Linked DNA regions of Homo sapiens: region 1 is linked to region 2. Evidence: promoter capture Hi-C in human tissues and cell types (Jung and others, 2019). All regions are on one chromosome and are shown on one strand. The core of a region is centred on a gene start or on the middle of the fragment in contact, and the rest is flanking DNA. Distances in the headings are between cores, read along the strand shown. Region 1 overlaps ZNF44 (zinc finger protein 44). Region 2 holds the start of ZNF439 (zinc finger protein 439).

Region 1 (5,676 bases), core at 3,169-5,668, 430 kb after region 2:
CGACTGAAGGCTTTACCACAGTGTTTACATTCATAGGGTCTTTCTCCAGTGTGAGTCCTTTCATGTCTTAGAAGGAAAGAGGGCCAAAAGAATGCTTTCCTGCATTGCTTACATTCATATGGCTTCTCTGCCGTGTGAGTCCTTTCATGAGTTTTTAAGTAACTGAAACGACTGAAGGCTTTGCCACAAATTTGACACTCATAAGATTTTTCTTCACTGTGAGTCCTTTCATGGCGACAAAAGTATTTAAAAGAACTAAATGCTTTCCCACACTCCTTACATTCATAAGGCTCCTCTTCACTGTGTGTTGTTTCATGACTTTGAAAGGAAAATAAATCACTAAAAGCTTTTCCACATTTACATTTATAGGGTTGCTCTCCAGTGTGTGTTGTTTCATGTTTTCGAAGGGAACTGGAAGTACGGAAGGCTTTCCCACATTGCTTGCATTCATAGGGTTTCTCTCCAGTGTGAGTCCTTTCATGTCTTTGAAATACACTAGGAGAATCAAAGGCTTTCCCACATACTGTGCATTTATGAGGGCCATCTCCAGTGTGTGCCATCATGTGTCTTCGAAAGCTTGAGCGATGAGATAACAATTTCCCACATTGCTTACATTCATAGGGTTTCTCTAGAGTGTGAGTTCCTTCATGAATTCGTGCTGAACCAGGAAAATCAAAGCCTTTCCCACATATCTTACATTTATGAGGTCCATCTCCACTGTGCATTATCATGTGTCTTTGAAAGCTTCCAAGATGACAAAACGCTTTCCCACACTGTTTACATGTATAGGGTTTCTCTCCAGTGTGAATTCTTTCATGTACTCGAAGGGAACCGGAAACACTGAAGGCTTTCCCACATTGTTTACATTTGTAGGGTTTCTCTCCAGTGTGAGTTCTTTCATGTCTTAGATATGAACTGTAATCAGGGAAGGCTTTAGAACACTGCTTACATTCATACGGTTTCTCCCCAGTGTGTATTTTTTCATGTCTTAGATAGGAACTGTAAACAGGGAAGGCTTTAGAACACTGCTTACATTCATATGGTTTCTCTCCAGTGTGAGTTCTTTCATGCATACGTAATAAACTGGGCCAAAAAAAGGCTTTCCCACACAATTCACATTTATAAGGTCCATCTCCACCTTTTACTACCATATGTCTTCGAAGGTTTCCAGGAGAACTGAAGGTTTTTCCACATTCCTTACAATCATAGGGTTTCTTTCCAGTGTGAGGCCTTTCACATGTTTGAAAGGAGTGGCGATAACTTAAGCCTTTCCCACACTGCTTATGTGTATATGACTTCTCTGCATATTCATGACACTCCCGGTGTTTGTGTCCAGTATCAACTCTGATGTAGCAATTCAGGGATGAATGACCCATTATGACTTCTCCATTCACACTGCTTCCACATGCATCTACTCTGGCGGGAGTGTTCTTGTTTACAATACTATTTCGAATCTGGCTTAAGGTTTCTCCACACTGACTACCATCTTTACTTTTACCAAATCTCTCTACCACATCACACCTGTAAAAAATGAAAAGTACATTACTAAAGGTTTATTATTGAATTTATATTTATCAACAGGTATTAGATTTACATTTTTAACATTATCAGGCAAGCTATAAGCTTCATGTCCTGCTTCAATGTGAATGGACTGAATGTTGTGCAAGATAACTCAATCCCAGCTATTTTCAAGACAATGATATGCACATGGGGATTCTTAATTCTTTTTTTTTTTTTTTTTTTTTTTTGAGATGGAGTCTCCCTCTGTCATCAGGCTGGAGTGCAGCTGGTGCTGTCTCGGCTTGCTGCAACCTCCGCCTCCCAGGTTCAAGTGATTCTCCTGCCTCAGCCTCCCAAGTAGCTGGGACTACAGGCATGCACCACCACACCCAGCTAATTTTTGTGTATTTTTAGTAGAGATGGGGTTTCACCATGTTGGCCAGGTTGGTCTCGATCTCCTGACCTCGTGGATCCACCCACCTCGGCCTCCCAAAGTGCTGGGATTACAGGCATAAGCCACTGCGCCTGGCCTTTTTTTTTTTTTTAAGACAGGGTCTTGCTCTGTCACTTAGGTTAGAGTGCACCAGTGCCATCACAGATCACTGCAGCCTCAAACTCCCAGGCTCAAGTGATCCTCCTGTCTCAGCCTCCCAAAGTGCTGGGATTGCGGGCATGAGCTACCACACCCAGCCTCATATGGGAAATCTTAATATTGTTTCCATGGGAACTACTTTGCAAACACTGAATAGCTATGTCACATTTAATAATATATTTATGTCACATTTAATAATATATTTTTATAGAGAAATTTTTCTAAGAATAAATAAATTTAAGCTGGGCTTGTTCATAATCTTTGCTTCTTTTTAAAAGTTCTTGTCATTCTCAGAAACACTGCAAGGACATCACCTGTCTCTTATAAGTACAAATTACCTTGGATTTCTCCTGAGATTTTGGTGCTGATCATCAATGTTCTGGTTTTCCCATTTCATTCCTAAAAGAGAGATCCAGAAAATTCACTATAAATTATTACAAAATGATACAAAAATTGTTAAGATTTTATGTACACTACAATCATGTATGATTCATTCATTGAACTATAGTTGACTCCTGAACAACACAGGTTTGAACTGCACAAGTCCATTTATATATAAATGTTCTTCAGTCTCTGCTACCCCTGAGACAGCAATATCAACCCCTCTTCTTAGTTAGCCTACTCAATGTGAAGATGAGGATGAAAACCTTCATGATGATCCATTTCAACTTAATGCAGAGTAAATATAGTTTTTCTTCCTTAAGATTTTCTTATTAATATTTACTTTCTCTAGGCCGGGCATAGTGGCTCATGCCTGTAATCCCAGCACTTTGGGAGGCCGAGGTGGGCAGATCACAAGGTCAGGAGATCGAGACCATCCTGGCTAACATGTTGAAACCCTGTCTCTACTAAAAATACAAAAAATTAGCTGGGCATGGTGGCGGGCGCCTGTAGTCCCAGCTACTCAGGAGGCTGAGGCAAGAATGGTGTGAACCCGGGAGGCGGAGCTTGTAGTGAGCCAAGATGGAGCCACTGCACTCCAGCCTGGGCGACAGAGCAAGACTCCATCTCAAAAAAAAAGAAAAAAAATTTACTTTCTCTAACTTACTTTATTCTGAGAATACAGTATGCAATACATATGACATATATGTGCTCGTCACTTGTTTATATGACTGATAAGGCTGCTGGTCAAAAGTAGGTTAAGCTGTGGCAGACAAAAGATTATATGAGGACATACAACAGGTTGGGGCCTGGCACTTCACCCTGTGTTGTTCAGGAATGAACTGTATCCCTTTTCCATATTTCAAATCACTGAACAGCATTGATGACCACAAAACAAATGTCTCTAATTGACCAAATGAAGACATGATGTCATCCATACCTATACAGTTCAGGTTCCTAATGGTTTCTCGCATCACATCTCTGTAGAGATTCTTCTGTGATGGACCCAGCAAAGCCCACTCCTCATGGGTGAAGTTCACAGCCACATCCTCAAAGGCCACTGAGTCCTGAAACATCCCATATGTCCAGAAAAGGAAGGTTGAAACTCACAGTACTGAGAACCTATACTCACCTTCATAAACTTCCCATGATGCTGTGGTTTCCAAGCATTTATTCAATGACGTGGTAAATCCACTCTTATTCTGTGTCTGCACTCACTGTCTGATGCTGGAATTCTGATGCTGGAATTGGGCTTGCTAAAATAACAGTTGAGTAGGAACATATCTCTTATTGGTGAATTATGCAAGTGAATCTTATTGCCTGGATTACTCCTAATGTCTGTTTCTACAGTGGGTCTGTAGTCCTTGTCATGACAAAGTCCTACCACCTACTGTGCAAAAGAGAGTTACAATTAGCAGTCCTGAGACGGCATATCCTTACAACTGCTTGTTCACAATGTTGAACCTTTCGTGGTGTCTAGACAATGTATTTAGGGGAGGGCCCCGTAAGCATAACTAATAAAGGGGGTGGAGTGTGCCTAAACTATTTGTGTAAAAATTATGGTATTTGCTTAACTCCTAACTTCCCTCTGAGAGTTTGGAATTGTATTACATCCTCAGCAGAGGAAGTGTACCCAATCAGCCACTGCTAGGTTTGAATGTCTTCCCCTCCAAAATGCAGGCTGAAACTGAATCTCCAATGTGGAAGTAATCAAAGGTAGTGGTTTAAGAGGTGAGTGGGTCTTGAGGGTTTGGAACACATGGATGGATTAATCCACTCATGTATGAATGGCTTAATAAATAAACTGGTTATCACAGATGAGGTTCTGGTGTCCTTATGAGAAGAGGAAGATACTTCAGCTAGACACTCAGCCCCCTCATCATGTAATGCCCTGTACCACCCAGGGACTCTACAGAGTCCCCATCAGCAAGAAGATTCCCACCAGATGCCCACTTTGACCTTACTTGATCTTCCCAGCTTTCAGAACTGCAAAAAATAAATATCATTTCTTATAGATTACCCCAGTTCTGGTATCCTGTTGTAAGTAACAAAAAAACAGTCTTATAGACTAAGACATACACAAAGAAACACTCTAGGCACAGGGTCCCTAATGTGCAACTCTGGTAGATGATATTTCATATTTTTGTTGTTGTTGTTTTTTCAATGTCTTACTTGGGGGATTTAGCCTATCCTACGTGATTACACAGAGAGAATATTTGGAAGCTGGTGACTGGTTCCCTGTAGATCAAATGTAGTTAAGTATGACAAAAGACTAATAAAAGAGATTTTACCAACTAAATAGAAAAAATTGTAACTTTCTACTGGGTAATGTCGAAGGAGAAAGAAAAGAAGAGGACAGACTGCAAATGTTCTTAGACAGAATTCAGTGTCAGCTTTCATGAATATCAATTATATTCCATAAATCTCAACAGCAGACATTTAATAATCAATAACATTACATAAACCAATTTTTATAGAAGTCATAAATGTCTAAAGATGCTTAAAAAAAACCTTCTCATCAAGAAAGTAGACAGCTTTACAAAAACAAACAGAAGATTTAAAACTGTAATTTTTCACATCCCATACTATTAACAGAGAGAAAAAGATACATAAACAGGAAAGTGAAAAATGATAGAAAAGCCTTGTATTGTTTTTTCTTTGGCCCCATCTCTGCCCATCTCATTGCCAGTCCTGAAGACAGCAGAGTTCCCAGTGTAGAACTCTGATCACCACAGAGTGTACAGATCACATTTTGTTTCCACATTATTGCCTTTGTATTTTTGAATCAGTCTGGGGACTAACCGAAGGTCTGAAACAAGGCTCTCTTTTCTATTTCATCTACAACAGAATCCAATCAGAGTCAAACTGGGCAGGAACTACTTTAAAATGTTGTAAAATACACAAAAAGTGTGCAACCACCTAGGACAACACAAGATGACTAAGACATACATTAGAAGGCCAGGTGTGGTGGCTCACACCTGTAATCCCAGTACTTTGGGAGGCCAAGGTGTTGGGAACAGGCCCCCAAATCTAGCCATAAACAAAATCTCTGCAGCACTGTGACATGCTCGTGATGGCTATGACGCACATGCTGAAGGTTGTTGGTTTACCGGAATGAGGGCAAGGAACACCTGGCCCACCCAGGGTGGAAAACTGCTTAAGGCGTTCCTGAACCACAAACAATAGCATGGGCCATCTGTGCC
Region 2 (6,358 bases), core at 3,629-6,128:
CCCTTTGTTTTTATTGGGTAGAAAGAGCAGGGAGGAGGAGGTAATGGTTGGTCAGCTGCTTGATTTATCACAGGTTCACATGATTACTTTCTTTGTACAACAGGCTTCAGATGTGCCTGTAGATAATCACAAGAAACACTGCGCTTGGGGAGTAACTGCCCTCAGCATTCTTTCTGGGTGGCAGACGTAGTTTGTCAGTTTGCCAACAAGCTGCATTCATGAGAAGAGTTTGCTGTTTGCTCATTAGCCTCCAGTGGTATACTGAGTTGATCAGGACCCCCATTCTTTCAGCCTCCAACACTGTCTGATTACATTGTTTCCAAAGCCTCTTTTATGGACTTCTGTTTACCCCTTGGCGTGTCCTGCATTTACTCTCCTCAAAATGTGTACTTAGAGGCCGGGTGCGGTGGTTCATGCCTGTAATCCCAGTACTTTGGGAGGCCAAGGCAGGAGGATCCCTTGAGCCCAGGAGTTTAAAACCAGCCTGGGCCACACTGGGAGACCCTGTCTCTAAAATAAAATGTATACTTACAAGCCCTAAACCCCAACAGGGTCATATTTGGACACAGACCTTTTAGGAGATCACATACATTTATAAAGGAGAGCCCTCATAATGGGATTAGTAAGAAGAGAGAGAATTCTCTGTTTCTCCAGCATGGGAGGACAAAGCAAGAAGGCATCTAGCTGTAAGCCAGGAAGATAGCCTTCACTGGGAACAAAATTGCTGGCAGCAAGATTTTGGACTTCCCGCACTCCAGAATTGTGAGAAACAAATGTTTGCCGTTTAAGAAACTGAGTCCATGGTATGAGTCCATGGTATTTTGTTATACCAGCCTGAGCTAAGTCACCCCAAGAGTCCTCACATTAACCATATACTGTCGTACAAGTGCTGCATTTGGATCTACCTGGAATGTCTCCAAGTCTTCTACTTTTCCTCTTGGACCCATTGTGAGAATAGGTTTTGCTTCATAGGCAACTGCTGGTGATAGTAGTGATAGCCCATAACAACTAGGGAGTTAAAGAAACTTCCTTTCTCTCTCTCTCTCTCTCTGTTTTTGAAATGGAGTTTTTGCTCTTGTTGCCCAGGCTGGAGTGCAATGGCACGATATCGGGTCACTGCAACTTCTGCCTCCTGGGTTCAAGTGATTCTCCTGCGTCAGCCTCCCGAGTAGCTTGGATTACAGGTGTGCACCACCACGCCTGGATAATTTTCGTTTTGTTAGTTACAGACGGGGTTTCACCATGTTGGCCAGCTTGGTCTCGAACTCTTGACCTCAGGTGATCCACCTGCCTTGGCCTCCCAAAGCGCTAAGATTACAGGTGTGAACCACTGTGCTCGGCCTCTTTTATATGTGTGTGTATATATATATATTCTCTTTTTTAATAAAAGTAAATAGAAACTAGGTCTTACTATGTTGCCCAGGGTGGTCATAGCCCAAGATTTTGGGCTCAAGCGATCTACCCGCCTCGCTCACCCAAAGTGCTGAGATTAAGGCGTGAGAAACTGTGCCAGGCCAAATGAAAGAAACTTAGTGGGAGGCCTGGCACAGTGGCTCACACCTGTAATCCCAGCACTTTGGGAGGCTGAGGCGGGTGGATCACTTGAGCTCAGGAGTTCAAGACCAGCCTGGACAGCATGTTGAAACCCTGTCTTTACTAAAAATACAAAAAATTAGCCGAGCATGGTAATCCCATTCTCACAGTCATAGAAAGGTTCTTTTTTAAGGATTCTACCTACTTGAGAGCATCATATACTGCCAGCACTTGTTCACTTCAAGAGTGTCTGGTTTCATCTCTATGACATAATTACAACCAAAATCCTAAAGGAACTGATTTACCACACTGTGTTTGCCATAAGGCCCAATTTGTACCTGCAGCAGCAGCTGTATCATCCCAACTCACAGCTCTACCCTCTAAAGGTGTGCCTGAGGCTTGTGATCCAGTCCATAGGGAAATATCACTACCTGCTGTGTTTTATAATTGGACCATCCAAGGGTTGTCAGGGTTTTCCCAGAGAGTTTTGTGGGATTTTTTTTTTTTTTTGAGACCAGGTCTTGCTGAAGTTAGTATGGCAGCATACTAACACATTAACCTGTCGAAAGCTTCCTGCAGAGCTGTGTCCCAGTCTCAAAGTGCCCCTTTCTAATAATTCTATATATTGGTATCAAACTTTGGGCTAAGTGTCAGATAAATGCTCTCCAATAATCCAAAGACCAACAAATGTCTGGATTTCTTTTTTCTTTTTTGTTTTTTAAGAGACATAGTGTGGTTCTGTTTCCCAGGCTGGAGTGCAGTGGTGGGATCATATAGCTCACTGCAGAAACTCCTGGGATCAAGGGATCCTCCTGCCTCAGCCTCCCAAGTAGCAGGGAATAAAGGCACATGCCACCATGCCCAATTGTTTATAAATTTTTTTGTACAGATGGAGTCTCACTGTATTTTCCAGGCTGTTCTTGAACGCCCAGGCTCAAGTGATTCCCCAACCTCAGCCTCCCAAAGTGCTGAGATTACAGTCATGAACCAATGCACCCAGCCCTGAAAAGGAAATATTTCGAATGGAAATTCAAAGGGAGAACATCTAATGTTCAAGTTGATGTCTATAGAGCAGTTAACGGGAACTATCATTTAGGGTCTGTGGGATTCTAGGACACTAGGTATGAAACAAATATGAGGAAGGTCAGAGAACAAGCTGACTTAATGATTAATGCTGAAGGTGCTGCCAGCTTGGTTTAAGTTTTCCTCCTCCCTTCCTCCCTGATGAATTTGATAAAGTTTAAAGGGATGGTTTCACCAGGGGCCTTTTACATTGACAGCAAGGAGGTCATCCGCCTGGTAAATCCTCAGTAGTCCAAGCCTCTTACATGGCTAGAATGATCCAGTCCATAAGGAAACGTCACCACCCTCTGTGTTTTACAATTAGACCATCCAAGGGGGTCAGGGTTTCCCCAGGGAATTTGGTGGGATTTTTTTTTTTTTGAGACCGTGTCTTGCTGAAGTACAGTAGCCTGATCAAAGCTCACAGCAGCCTCAAACTTTGGGGCTCGAGTAATCCTCCTGCCTCAGGCTCCTGAGTAGCTGAGACTAAGGGTACACACCACCTCTCCAGGCTAATAAAAAAAAAATTATGGAGATGGGAGTGTCTCACTTCACTGCTCAGGGTGGTCTTCAACTTCGGGCTTCAAGTGATCCTCCCACTTTGGCCTCCTAAAATGTTGGGATTGCAGGTGTAAGCCATGGCACCCGGCCTCCCAGGCTGTTGTTGAAAGGTCTTTGCAATCTCTAAGAGTTCTGCAGCAGTTTATTCCCTGACAGTGAGAGTCTCATCCTTTCACCCCATTTTGCAGCAGTAGTTGGGTGTTCACTTTTCTTTCCATAAGGAAGCGAGCTTGCCAGTGACCCTCATCCCCCTCCTCATCGATGACTTCTTTGTCATCAGAGCCTTCCTCTTCATAAATTCCCACGGAATCCAAGTTTTCACGTCCCAAATTATGATAGCCACAGGCCCTCACCAGCTGCCATAGCACCCCATTTCATGGAAGCCACCTGACTCTTCTTTGAGCATCCTGTCCCAGGAGCCCCCATCTGTGCTCTCCCGGGCTCCAGGCCCTAGAGCCGCGCTGCTGCAGAGCCCAGTTCCCAGGGCTGCTCCCTCCACGTATCCACATCCATCTCCAGCTTTCCACCCTTTCTCTGACCAGACAGGCCTGGAGGTGCTGCAGTGTCAGTGACCGTGGGTCCCTCCGCTGCCACCTCCACCGCGATCTGGAAGTCTTTTAAATGTACTTAAGTTATCTTAGAATTTTCCTTCCCCACTTTATACATAAACATAGGAGGAGAGCAGGGACTCTGCTGGTGTCTTATTCACACAATGGGATTGAGGGTGTTTGTGTCATGGAACTGATCAATGGGGTGAGAAGTAGCTGAATAACCTGCAGGGGCAGCAGAGCCCGAGGCCAGTGACTCCACGCTGAGGCCAGTCTGGAGCCTGCAAAGGAAGGGAAAGGAGCTTTTCCTGGGGGCTTCCTGGGCAGCCCGCCCTCCCCTACAGGTGGCCTCCAGCTGCTCAGAGCAGCTCCAGAAGGAGTGTGGATTCCGAGAAGCTGTAGGGCCCTGGAAAGCAGAAGACCTTCGTGCAGACGCATTTGTGGGGTTCTGTCCTTTCTGGTGTTGTACCTCTGGAGCCTGGGGCTGTCTTCTGGGCAGGGTTTGGGGTTTGACATACATGGGGTCGCTGGAGTCAGAGTTATTTGTATATATAAAGAAAATGTGTGAAAATCAGGCTAGAGACACAATTGTTTGGTGGCGTCACCTGGATAAAAGGTTTATGAGGTTGACAGTTTATTTAGGTCCGAAGCTTAACCCCAGGTGAGAGTTTCCTGCAGGTGAAAATGAAGATCTGGAAGGACGGAGCATTTTCATACTGTGAGGAGGGGATGGGGGTGTGTGAGCAAGTCTTGGCCATGCCTCATCCCCAATTCCGGCCCGCTCGAGGAAATATGCCTCTCCTCCTGGTGCAGTCTTGCCTGGCCTGGTCTCGGTTCCCCTGCTGCTCTGAGGCAGGAGATGGCTCCTGTGGACACTGAGTCTGAAATTCCCTGCACACTCCTGTGACCCCGTGCAGAACGAAGGAGCGGGGACAGTCCTTTGAGTGAGGAAGACGCTAGTGTTCTCTTCTAACAATAGCAAGTTTGGCTGAAATGCAACTATCCAATAACCCGAGTGCAGGAAGCAGCTCGTGTAAGCTTAGAGAAGCTGTTGCTAGAATCTGTCAGTCTGGCTCCGCAGGGCCTGATACCCAGGGCTTCCGCTGTCACTTAGACGTGGGGGGCGGGGCCGAACATTCCATCCAATCAGAGGCACTGGCTCGGGGCCCTGCCCACTGTGCATCCAGGCACGGAGGATGTTGCATTCCTGCCGTCACCTTTGTCGCTGCGAGGGCGGCGGTTGGGATCTGGCCTTTCCAGCCCCGAGAGGGACCTAGTGCCTCTACCCAGATTTCTGTCGCTCTGTCACCTGCGCTATGCCCTGCTTTACTCACAGGAGCTGTAGAGAGGACCCCGGTACATCTGAAAGCCGGGAAATGGTGCGTGTGCTGGCCGGGAGTGGTGCGATGGGGGAGGGGCTGCCTGGAACTGGCGGGACCCGGGCCTCCCTGTGGGCGACTCCGGGGTCTGGGACCGAGTCCTCCTAGAGCTGCTCGGCCCTCGGTCCCCGCGGCCGCTGGATGTGGGTGGGCCGGCAGCCGGGACTCCGGGCGTCCTGTCCCGTCCCTGCCCGTCGACTGCGGCCTTGGCCCCGAAGCCCTTTTGTGCAGCTCCGCGCCCGCAGCCCGACGCCCCAGCTTGTGCGGGGGCCACGGGAGGGTCATGCGCGGATTTCGACTCGGGTGTGGATTTCGTCCGTAGGAGGAGCAGCGGTCTGTGGGGCCCACAGCCTCCACTTTCTCCTGTTAAAAATTATACTGAGGTACGTTAACAAAAAGTTCATTTGAGGAAACAGCCATTCACGAATGAGAAACACCCGGTCCTGGCTTGTGGTTTGTCAACGGAAAAAAAACAGACTATGTAAAATACAGAAGTGTATTCAGAGCCGAGTAGGAGAGACCTTGGCCGAGGGAAACACAACCCCAAGCAGCCTGGAGTAAGTGGTCCGGAGGCGGCTCAGGACAGTTTGGTTTTATTCATTTCAGAGAGACAGGAATTGCAGGGAAAATGATGGATCAAGGCTGGAAGGTGTAAATTCCATTGGCAGAAAGGGTGGGACCTGTGGAAGGGGGGTTAGGAGGCACAGGTGGTTGAGGGATTCTGTAGGTGGCAGCTGGTTGAGAGTGTGAAGCTTTGTCTAAAGTTTGGAGGAGGTAGGAAGGAATGCTGAAGGAAGGGGGTCTGTTATCTGCCACTTCATTCCATCCCAGCCAAAAAACAGTCCTGTTTCTCTAGATTTTATGAATTCTAAGACGTAACTTTACCTTTGCCTTGCGTGGCCTTAGGTCTTGTTTGTAATTTGGTATCTTGTTGCCACAAGGAGTCTGTTTTTCCAGTCAGAGAATGTCTGTTTTTACATGAATGTGCGTCAGTTGCTGCATGTAAACTCCTAAAGGGAGAGGGTATAAGGAGACCTGTCTCACCTCCCATCCTGTCATACAGAGGCACTCAATTTTCAGGGTGTTTTGGGGGTTCCCTTGGCCAAGAGCCAGTCACTTCACTTAGCTGGGAAGGTACTTTGTTTGTTTTTGTTTTTGTTTGAGACGGAGTCTCCTTCTGTCGCCCAGGCTGGTGTGCAATGGCTCGATCTCGGCTCACTGCAACCTCTGCCTTCTGGGTTCAAGGGATTCTCCTGCCTCAGCCTCCTGAGTAGC

The links. Contacts are between HindIII fragments. The study calls those that stand out against the background at their distance.
Region 1: a contact is called between a fragment that was not itself captured here and the fragment with the promoter of ZNF439 in region 2, in 2 of the 25 tissues and cell types used here (dorsolateral prefrontal cortex and mesenchymal stem cells).

Annotation. Positions count from the first base shown.
Region 1 is chr19:12,272,543-12,278,218 of GRCh38, forward strand. ZNF44 (zinc finger protein 44) reads right to left here. Exons shown (of 4, transcript NM_016264.4): 2 at 3,414-3,540; 3 at 2,431-2,491; 4 at 1-1,521. Among named protein-coding and RNA genes, the nearest start is that of ZNF44, 20 kb to the right of the region's middle. The HindIII fragment of the contact is 9,813 bases long and covers 1-5,676 here.
Region 2 is chr19:11,843,848-11,850,205 of GRCh38, forward strand. It overlaps ZNF439 (zinc finger protein 439), which reads left to right and starts at 4,879. Exons shown (of 4, transcript NM_001348719.2): 1 at 4,879-5,083. The coding sequence starts at 5,021. The HindIII fragment of the contact is 2,018 bases long and covers 4,549-6,358 here.